2 separate regions of the Homo sapiens genome follow, and region 2 is linked to region 1. The links are contacts of gene promoters, found by promoter capture Hi-C in blood cells and fetal thymus (Javierre and others, 2016). All regions are on one chromosome and are shown on one strand. Each heading gives the region's core, a stretch centred on a gene start or on the middle of the fragment in contact. The rest is flanking DNA. Distances are from core to core; before and after follow the strand shown.

The links. Contacts are between HindIII fragments. The CHiCAGO score rates a contact against its expected background, and 5 or more counts as called.
Region 2: a contact is called between a fragment that was not itself captured here and the fragment with the promoter of LRATD2 in region 1, in 2 of 17 cell types (M1 macrophages and M2 macrophages). The highest score is 6.0, in M1 macrophages.

The regions. Positions count from the first base shown.
Region 1 is chr8:126,556,341-126,560,266 of GRCh38, reverse strand. LRATD2 (LRAT domain containing 2) reads left to right here and starts at 1,789. Exons shown (of 2, transcript NM_174911.5): 1 at 1,789-2,233; 2 at 2,782-3,926. The coding sequence starts at 2,878. The coding sequence ends at 3,810. It overlaps LOC105375751 (a long non-coding RNA gene), which reads right to left and starts at 2,391. Exons shown (of 6, transcript NR_188069.1): 1 at 2,336-2,391. RefSeq lists silencers at 1,657-1,836, 3,725-3,844 and enhancers at 1,551-2,387, 3,365-3,514. The HindIII fragment of the contact is 2,746 bases long and covers 1-2,506 here.
Region 2 is chr8:125,928,457-125,932,382 of GRCh38, reverse strand. The region is part of intron 3 of LINC00861 (long intergenic non-protein coding RNA 861); the gene reads left to right. Among named protein-coding and RNA genes, the nearest start is that of LINC00861, 21 kb to the left of the region's middle. The HindIII fragment of the contact is 4,485 bases long and covers 1-3,926 here.

The sequences.
Region 1 (3,926 bases), core at 540-3,039:
AAGCATTTATTGAGTACCCACTCAGTGCCAGGCATTCAGATATAAAATGGATCAGGGCTTGTTCCCTCTGAGGCTTTATAGTTGGTCAGTTCAAGATATGTTGTTGAGCCACTATTGTGCACCTGAGAACAGCTCATCAAGACAAAAGGAGACACACCTAGTCAGCTAGGCATTGCTTCCTCACCCACCAGATCTCTGACCTAGAGTGCTGGTAGCAAATTGTCCTACAACTGTGTCCTCTCAGTTCAATTCTCCCATTCCCAGCCATCCCAGTAGCACCTAGGAGCAAAGTGGCCTCCCAAATCAGGCAGTAGCAGAGGTCTCCCAATCTGATGAACATAGGATGACCAGCCATAATCTCTATAAGCCTAACTCTTGTCTATAATATGGTGATCATATGATGGCAACAAATATCACTCAGGTAACAGCAGCCCCCCACACCATTTGCTATCAAAAGGACTGGGGTGTGTTGGATTCATTCAGTCACATGCGCCTGAGGCCAGCCAGTCTGAAATTATTGAAACAGAATCGCACAGCACACAGTAGTCTCATGTTGATCTAACTTATACTTCAGACTTGCTGAAGGACTAATTTCTATCACAGCCCTGCCAATATTGATTGTTTGGACTCAAAATTACATAAGTAGAATGATTTTTATTTTTTTCTCCTAAACTAGAAAGGATCACAGTAGTGCTAGTATATTCCTGTTTCCACTGGCTGGTTATACATGCTGGAAAAAATTAGTCAAAAGAAAGCAACTGAAGACAGAATATAGGTCTTGAATCGCATTCTTAAGTCCCCTACGAATAAGTCTGGGTGCTTGCAGTAGTGCCTAAACTTGTTTATTGTAAACAGAGCTGTTAATCCTCCACCCTCACCGGACCCATTATTTTAAAAAAATAAACAACAACAACAACAAAAAAAACACTTTGGTAGCCTACATTTAGGTAAAAGAAACGAAACCAGTGGAGAGGTGGAAGTGTCCTTTTGTGGTGGAGGTTAGTAGGCATTACTGGTCTCCTGTCACTTCCCTAAGTCAACAGGAAGGAAATATATCCACTAGGGCCTCTGCTAATTTGTTTCTAATTTAAGGACAATTAGAATTAGGATGTAGGAATTAGGCAATTCCTACATCCCCTAACCCCCCACCCCCCCAAAAAAAAGCAGTCAGAGCTGCACGCTTCTCTCACTATCCAACGAACTGGTACCTCTCTGGAAATAACGGAGGTTATGAACTTTGTACTAACTTCCAGGGGTATCTAATAAACAGAGCGGTGGTCTTGGGACCCAGTCAGTGAATAAGTCTTCGTTCTGTTTTATACTGTTTCTTTTCTGCGATTTTCTTTTCTACCCCAAAGTTTCCCACTACTAACTCTGAAAACACCTCTAGGATGACGCACTCTTCGAGCTGTCCTGGTGAAGAATCCTTTCTTGTGACCTTTAGGGCAAGAAATATGTTCCAGGAAAGAAAAGAAACGACTGTTCCTCCTTCTCCAGGTACTCTGGGAAAAAACAGGTCAAAGGGAAAAGGCGCAAACACCAAACTCTCCTTCCCTTTCTCATTTCCACACTGGCAAGTTGTGTTTGCCTTCTAACTTGTCTCGGAAGGCAAGCAGAGCTCACAGCACCAGCCCCAGGCGGCGGGTGGATTATTTACAGGGGGATTTAAACCCGCTCCGGCGCGGGGGCGTGGCCGGGCGGAGTCCCGAGGCCCGAGTGGGCGGGGCGGGGGCGGGGCTCCCGGCCGCTCGGCGCAATGTGAAAAAGACCCGAGCTCGGGGAGTGAGCGCCTGTCTCTTTAAATGCCACGGGCTGCGCTCCCGCCCGGGAGCCCGGAGCCGGATCTACAATCCCGTCCCTCCAGCTCCGGTGCTTGTTGCTCGCCCGGCCCAAGCGGGAGCTGTTGCCGCCAGGCTGCGAGGCTGCCGTCCTCTCCTCCTCGCGCCCCACCTCCCCCGAGAGCTGGCTGAGGAGGGGCAGCAGCCCCAGCTGGCGGGAGGAAGCGCGGTGTGAACAGGGATTGCCCCCCGCCTTCAAGTATCGGGGCGCTACGCAGCCGCGGGGGAAAGACATGCCCCTAGTCTGCCCGCTGCGCTGCCCTCTGCCCAGCCTCGCTGCCGCCCGCGCCGGGAGAGGAGGGACTGCCGAGCCTACACCTTCAAACTCGCCCTAGAAGTCTCGGGGCGCGGCAGGGAGCCCTTCCCCAGGCCCCACGGCCTTCACCTCTCCGCGGGTGAGTTTGTGCAGGTAACCCGAGCCTGAGGGCGGGCGCGGGGGAAGGGCGGGCGAGCCGGGAGGAGGTAGCGCTGCAGGTGAGCCAGGTAGGGTGACTCACCTGTCCAGGTCGCGCTCTGAGATCCTCGCTTGTTCCTCTGGGGATGGATGCGTTGGTGGGGAGGAGGCGTCCCCGGGGCTAGTTAGGGCCCGAGGGTGGGAGGGGAAGTTAGCAGAGGAGGGGGGGGATTGGCGTAAAGTTTCTCTTTCCTTCCCTCTTCCTGCCCAAGCTTGGCAGGTAGGGCGCAGGCGGAAGCAGTAGAAGCTGCTGATGCAATGGGCTTTTGCCAGGGCCAGGCGAAGGGCTGGGGACAGGGAGAACAGGAGTTGCCCAGTCTCCTGTGACCGTGACCTTACAGGTGGAGAAACGAGGGAAAGCTCGCTACACCCGAGACTTCCCCCTAAAATGGCTCCAGGTGCTGAGCCCCCACCGATTCTTTTTCGGAACAAAACGCCCTTTTCACGGAGGGGCTCCTGCATGGCTTTCTTGCCTTCCTCTCCCAACAGGTAGCCTCAGCCCCTGTCCGGGGACCTGTGCAAATGACCCTGGAGTTGGTTTCGCTTTCTCCCCTTGCGGCGGTGTGAACGTGTGTCCGCAGCGTGATGGGCAACCAGGTGGAGAAATTGACCCACCTAAGTTACAAGGAAGTTCCCACGGCCGACCCGACTGGCGTGGACCGGGACGACGGGCCCCGCATTGGGGTCTCCTACATTTTCTCCAATGACGATGAGGACGTGGAGCCGCAGCCGCCGCCTCAGGGGCCAGATGGCGGCGGCTTGCCCGACGGTGGGGACGGGCCGCCGCCGCCCCAGCCGCAGCCCTACGATCCGCGGCTGCACGAGGTGGAATGCTCCGTGTTCTACCGGGACGAATGCATCTACCAGAAGAGCTTCGCGCCGGGCTCGGCGGCGCTGAGTACCTACACGCCCGAGAACCTGCTCAACAAGTGCAAGCCGGGCGATCTGGTGGAGTTCGTGTCGCAGGCTCAGTACCCGCACTGGGCCGTATATGTGGGTAACTTCCAGGTGGTGCACCTGCACCGGCTGGAGGTGATTAACAGCTTCCTGACTGACGCCAGCCAGGGCCGTCGCGGCCGCGTGGTCAACGATCTGTACCGCTACAAGCCGCTAAGCTCCAGCGCCGTGGTGCGCAACGCGCTGGCGCACGTGGGTGCCAAGGAGCGCGAGCTGAGCTGGCGCAACTCGGAGAGTTTCGCCGCCTGGTGCCGCTACGGCAAGCGCGAGTTCAAGATCGGCGGCGAGCTGCGCATCGGCAAGCAGCCCTACCGGCTGCAGATTCAGCTGTCGGCGCAGCGCAGCCACACGCTCGAGTTCCAGAGTCTAGAGGACCTGATCATGGAGAAGCGACGCAACGACCAGATCGGGCGCGCGGCCGTGCTGCAGGAGCTCGCCACGCACCTGCACCCGGCGGAGCCGGAGGAGGGCGACAGCAACGTGGCGCGGACTACGCCGCCTCCCGGGCGCCCCCCTGCGCCCAGCTCCGAGGAGGAGGACGGAGAGGCAGTGGCACACTGATGGGCGAGCTGAGCGCAGAGCTGCGAAGGGGAACTGTTTGCAGTAGCAGCCGCTGCTCCCTTTCTCCCTCTCTTCCTCCCTCTTTTGCCACTGTCTGGGCCCCATCTGGGATTCCT
Region 2 (3,926 bases), core at 579-3,078, 630 kb after region 1:
ACATTGCTAAATACAGAGGTCAATTCTCAGTTCTCTTCTTACTTGACCTAAATGCTTTTGATCCAGCTGATAACTTCTTCCTACTAAAAATGTTCCCTTTGCTTGATTTCCAGCACATTCCTTGTCTTGGTTTTTCTCCTATGTCACTGACTGTTTCTTCTCAGTCTAATTTGCTAATTTTTTGTCTCCTCCCAGTTGCTTTATCTGCAAAGTGTTAGGGATCAGTCAGTCTTCTTCTCTTCTCTTAACTACATTCACTCCCTAGGGGATCTCATTAATTCATGACTTTAAAAATCCCACATGTTGCTGACTCCCGTATTTACATCTTCAACCTTGACACCTTCACCAGCTCCAAAGTTATGGTATCCTGTTGCCTACTTGATGTTTCCACTGAGAAGGCCAACAGTGTTTCTAACGAATATACCCCTAGTCTTCTTCCTTGAGCCTGCCTTCCAGCAGTATTCTCCATCTCAGTTCAAAATGGACACATCCTTTTCTAGTATCTCAAACATTATTGGCAATCTCATCTCTTATATCTCAATCTGTGAGGAAACACTGTTGTGCTCTACTTTCAAAATATTTACAGACAGCAACACCTTCTCATCTCCCACCCCTTTACCATTGTTTACCTGAATTGTTACCAAAGTATGCACAGTTTATTCCCCACATGGCAGCCAGAGGGCTCCTTTTAGAATGGAAGTCAGATCATGGCACTCCTCTTTCACAACCCCAGAACAGCTCTCTCTTTCACTCAAAGCAAAACTCAAAGTTATTACAAGAAAATATCCTATTGAACTTCCCAAGTCCTCTCTGACTTCATCTCCTGCTAATTTCCCTCTTGCTCACATTCCTCTAGCTACCATGTTCTCCTTTTTATTTATTTTAGTTATCTATTGCTCCATAACAAGCCACCCAGAATTAAGCAGTTTAAAACAATTTGTTATATTCTCTATTGGGTCTGTGGATTAACTGACTTCAACTGGGCATTTGTGCTTTAAGGCTTCTTGTGTGGTTACAGTCCAATGTCAGCTGAGTCTGAAGTCATCTGAAGGATCCATGGGCTGATGTCCACGGTAGCTTGCTCACTCCAGTGACTGACAGTTGATGCTGAGAGCTGAGCTGGGATTGTGGACAAGAGCACCTACATGCCTCTGGCCATGGCCTTTCCACATGCCTTGGGCTTCTTATAGCATAGCAGCTATGGCATTCAGTGTTCTGAGGGTCAGAGTCCCAAGAGCAAGTGTTATAGGAGGCAGGAAGTAGAAATTGCCAAGCCAGTTAAAGACTATGCTTGGAACTGGCCCATCAACACTTCTACCATATTCTACTGGTTAAAGCAGTTACCAGTCCTGCCAGGATTTGAGGGCATGGAGTAATAAACTCCACTTGCTCATGGTAACATGGCAAGGTCACATTGCAAAGGAGCATGTGGGATAGAAGATATTATCAGGGAAGTCTCTGGAAAATCCTATTCTTCAAACACAACAGCTGCACTCTTACCTCAGTGCTTGCAGTAGCTTTTCCCTCTGCCTAAAATGCTTTTCTCTTGATATCAGCATGTTTTGCTTCCTCACAGCTTTCTAGACTTTGCTCTCTCACTTACTTCAACTCTGCTATTATGTCACCTTCTCAATGAGCTCTTCCTGGACCACTCTACTGAATATGACACATAAACAGTCTCCTTGGTGATCAAGGGCTCACCATTGCCCATTAACGTTGGCTTGACCAAACTTCAGCCAGACTTCTCCCCTCCCTACAGGCCCCTACATTTTGACTTGCCCTCAAGTTTAAATAAGCACTAAGCACCTCAGGTGCAGAATATCCTCCTCAACACTCATTCCGAGAATCAGCCGACCACAAAGAAAAACATTTCTCTGCTGAAGCAACCTGATTTTGCCACCTTCTTACCCTGCCCTCTTGCCTTTTGCCCCTACAAACTTCCCTGTCAGTTTTACCTCTCCCTCTCTCCAAAAGATATGTCCTCTTCTGTTTGACTTTGAGACACTTGAGATTTCTGAGATGGAAGCATTCTCCCTGCTGTTTAACTAAAGTTTCCATTTACCTAAGTCTGCATTCATTTTGATTGAACACCTAGCACTCTCAATATTGTTTATCCTAAACCCGTTTTTCACATTACACAATACCTTTTACATACTAAATGTCATCTCTATTTAACTTCAACTATTTATTATGTTTATTGTCTCTAGCCCTCCATTAGGATATAAACTGCCTGACAGCAGGATGCCTTTCTGTTTCATCTGTTGAATTCCCATCACCTACTACAAACATGATAAGTGCTCAAAAAGCCTTTGTGAATTTAATGGATAAATTTACTCTTACCTGTGATGTGATATGAGCAGGTTTTGTCTAATACATAGATACAGAATAAAGAAATATTCGCTACTGGTTCTGCCAGGATCTCATTCTCCACTCCAGTTAACTGAATCTCTGACATGTTCCTTGAGCTTGTTTCAAATTCTTGTTTCAAGCATCTAACTCCTATAAAACTGTCCTGTTTTTCTTTGCCCTTCCTAACTTCTTTTCCTCTCTGCCCTTCAACTCAGCTCAGATACTGGGGCTTCATGATTTGTGGACAGTTGTCCCTGATGCAGTTAACCCACAGGCTTTTCAATCATTTCCTCTGAGTAGATCCCTGTGCACTTCTGTTAAACTCAGATCCCAGCTGTACCAGCCACCTGTCTAGCCCTTCCCTATCAGATCCCAGGTATACCAGCCATCTGTCCACCCCAGCTTTCCCTCCTTCCTTGGGCAGGTACCATTCCTGTTTCTGACACCTCCAGTCATCCATGTCCTACTTTAGTGAACAAAGTGCCTTATAACCACATCCTAGACAAAAGAAAAGAAGTATCATTGCTTTATGATCATGCATAGATAATATTTGTGGAGTGAATTTGTGTCAGAAAGATCTGGAGGCACAGTGGTTTTACATTCTAAGTTATTCCCCTATTCCAAGGACTTTGGCAAAGGAAGGGGAAAGAATCAAAAGTTTTATGATAATCATAATGAGTTTCAGGTCATGACCACATAATTCACCTTGTTATTACACACTGCTGATCCTTTAAGTAAAATACCAGAGCCCCAGTAAAACAAATGAGATACCAATGCCTGAGGATTTCACCCAAGCATCACTAATTAAGGGTTATCTTCTAATGCATTCAAGCTACACAAGTCTCTTGAGTTTGCATAATTGAGCTGGAAATCAGTTGAAGGAAATTTATGGGATTTTTAGCCCAGGAGGGAAAGCAAGAAAGTTGGAAAACTCAAAACCATGGGGAAACAAAACAAAAACACACAAAAAAAACTTCCTTCACATTGAAAAATGAAGGTTTTGTTTCTGACTCTTTTTTTTTTATGTAAGAAAAGTCTTACACTATCTTTTATATCCTCTTTGTCTTGTTTTCCAATTTTTAGACCTCCAAATGAGGTAGAGGGTGAAAGAAAGAGCATTAGAATCCAAGTCAGAAGTCTTGGGTTATACCTTCCCCCTACTCAATAACTGAGTCTCATATATGAAATATAAATAAAAATTACTGTATCTACTCCATGGAGTAATAATGTGGATTAAACAAGAGGACGAATTGAAAATACAACAAGTCCTCGATGTCATCCACAGGTTCTTGAAAACTGTGACTTTAAGTGAAAGGATTTATAACAAAATAGGTTCATTGATACAAACAAACTTCCTACAGCATATTTTTGGTCACAGAAACATCACCAAACTTCTAAAAAAAAAACCAAAGCACTTCTAATGGTAAACACTGAAACAAATGTGAGTGTGCTGTCTCTCTCTCTTTCTCTCATATATATTTTTATATATATAAAATGTATATGAAAAATCTTTCATATATAATATTTCATATATATGAAAAATCTTTCATATATATAGTCTTTCAAATAAGATTATT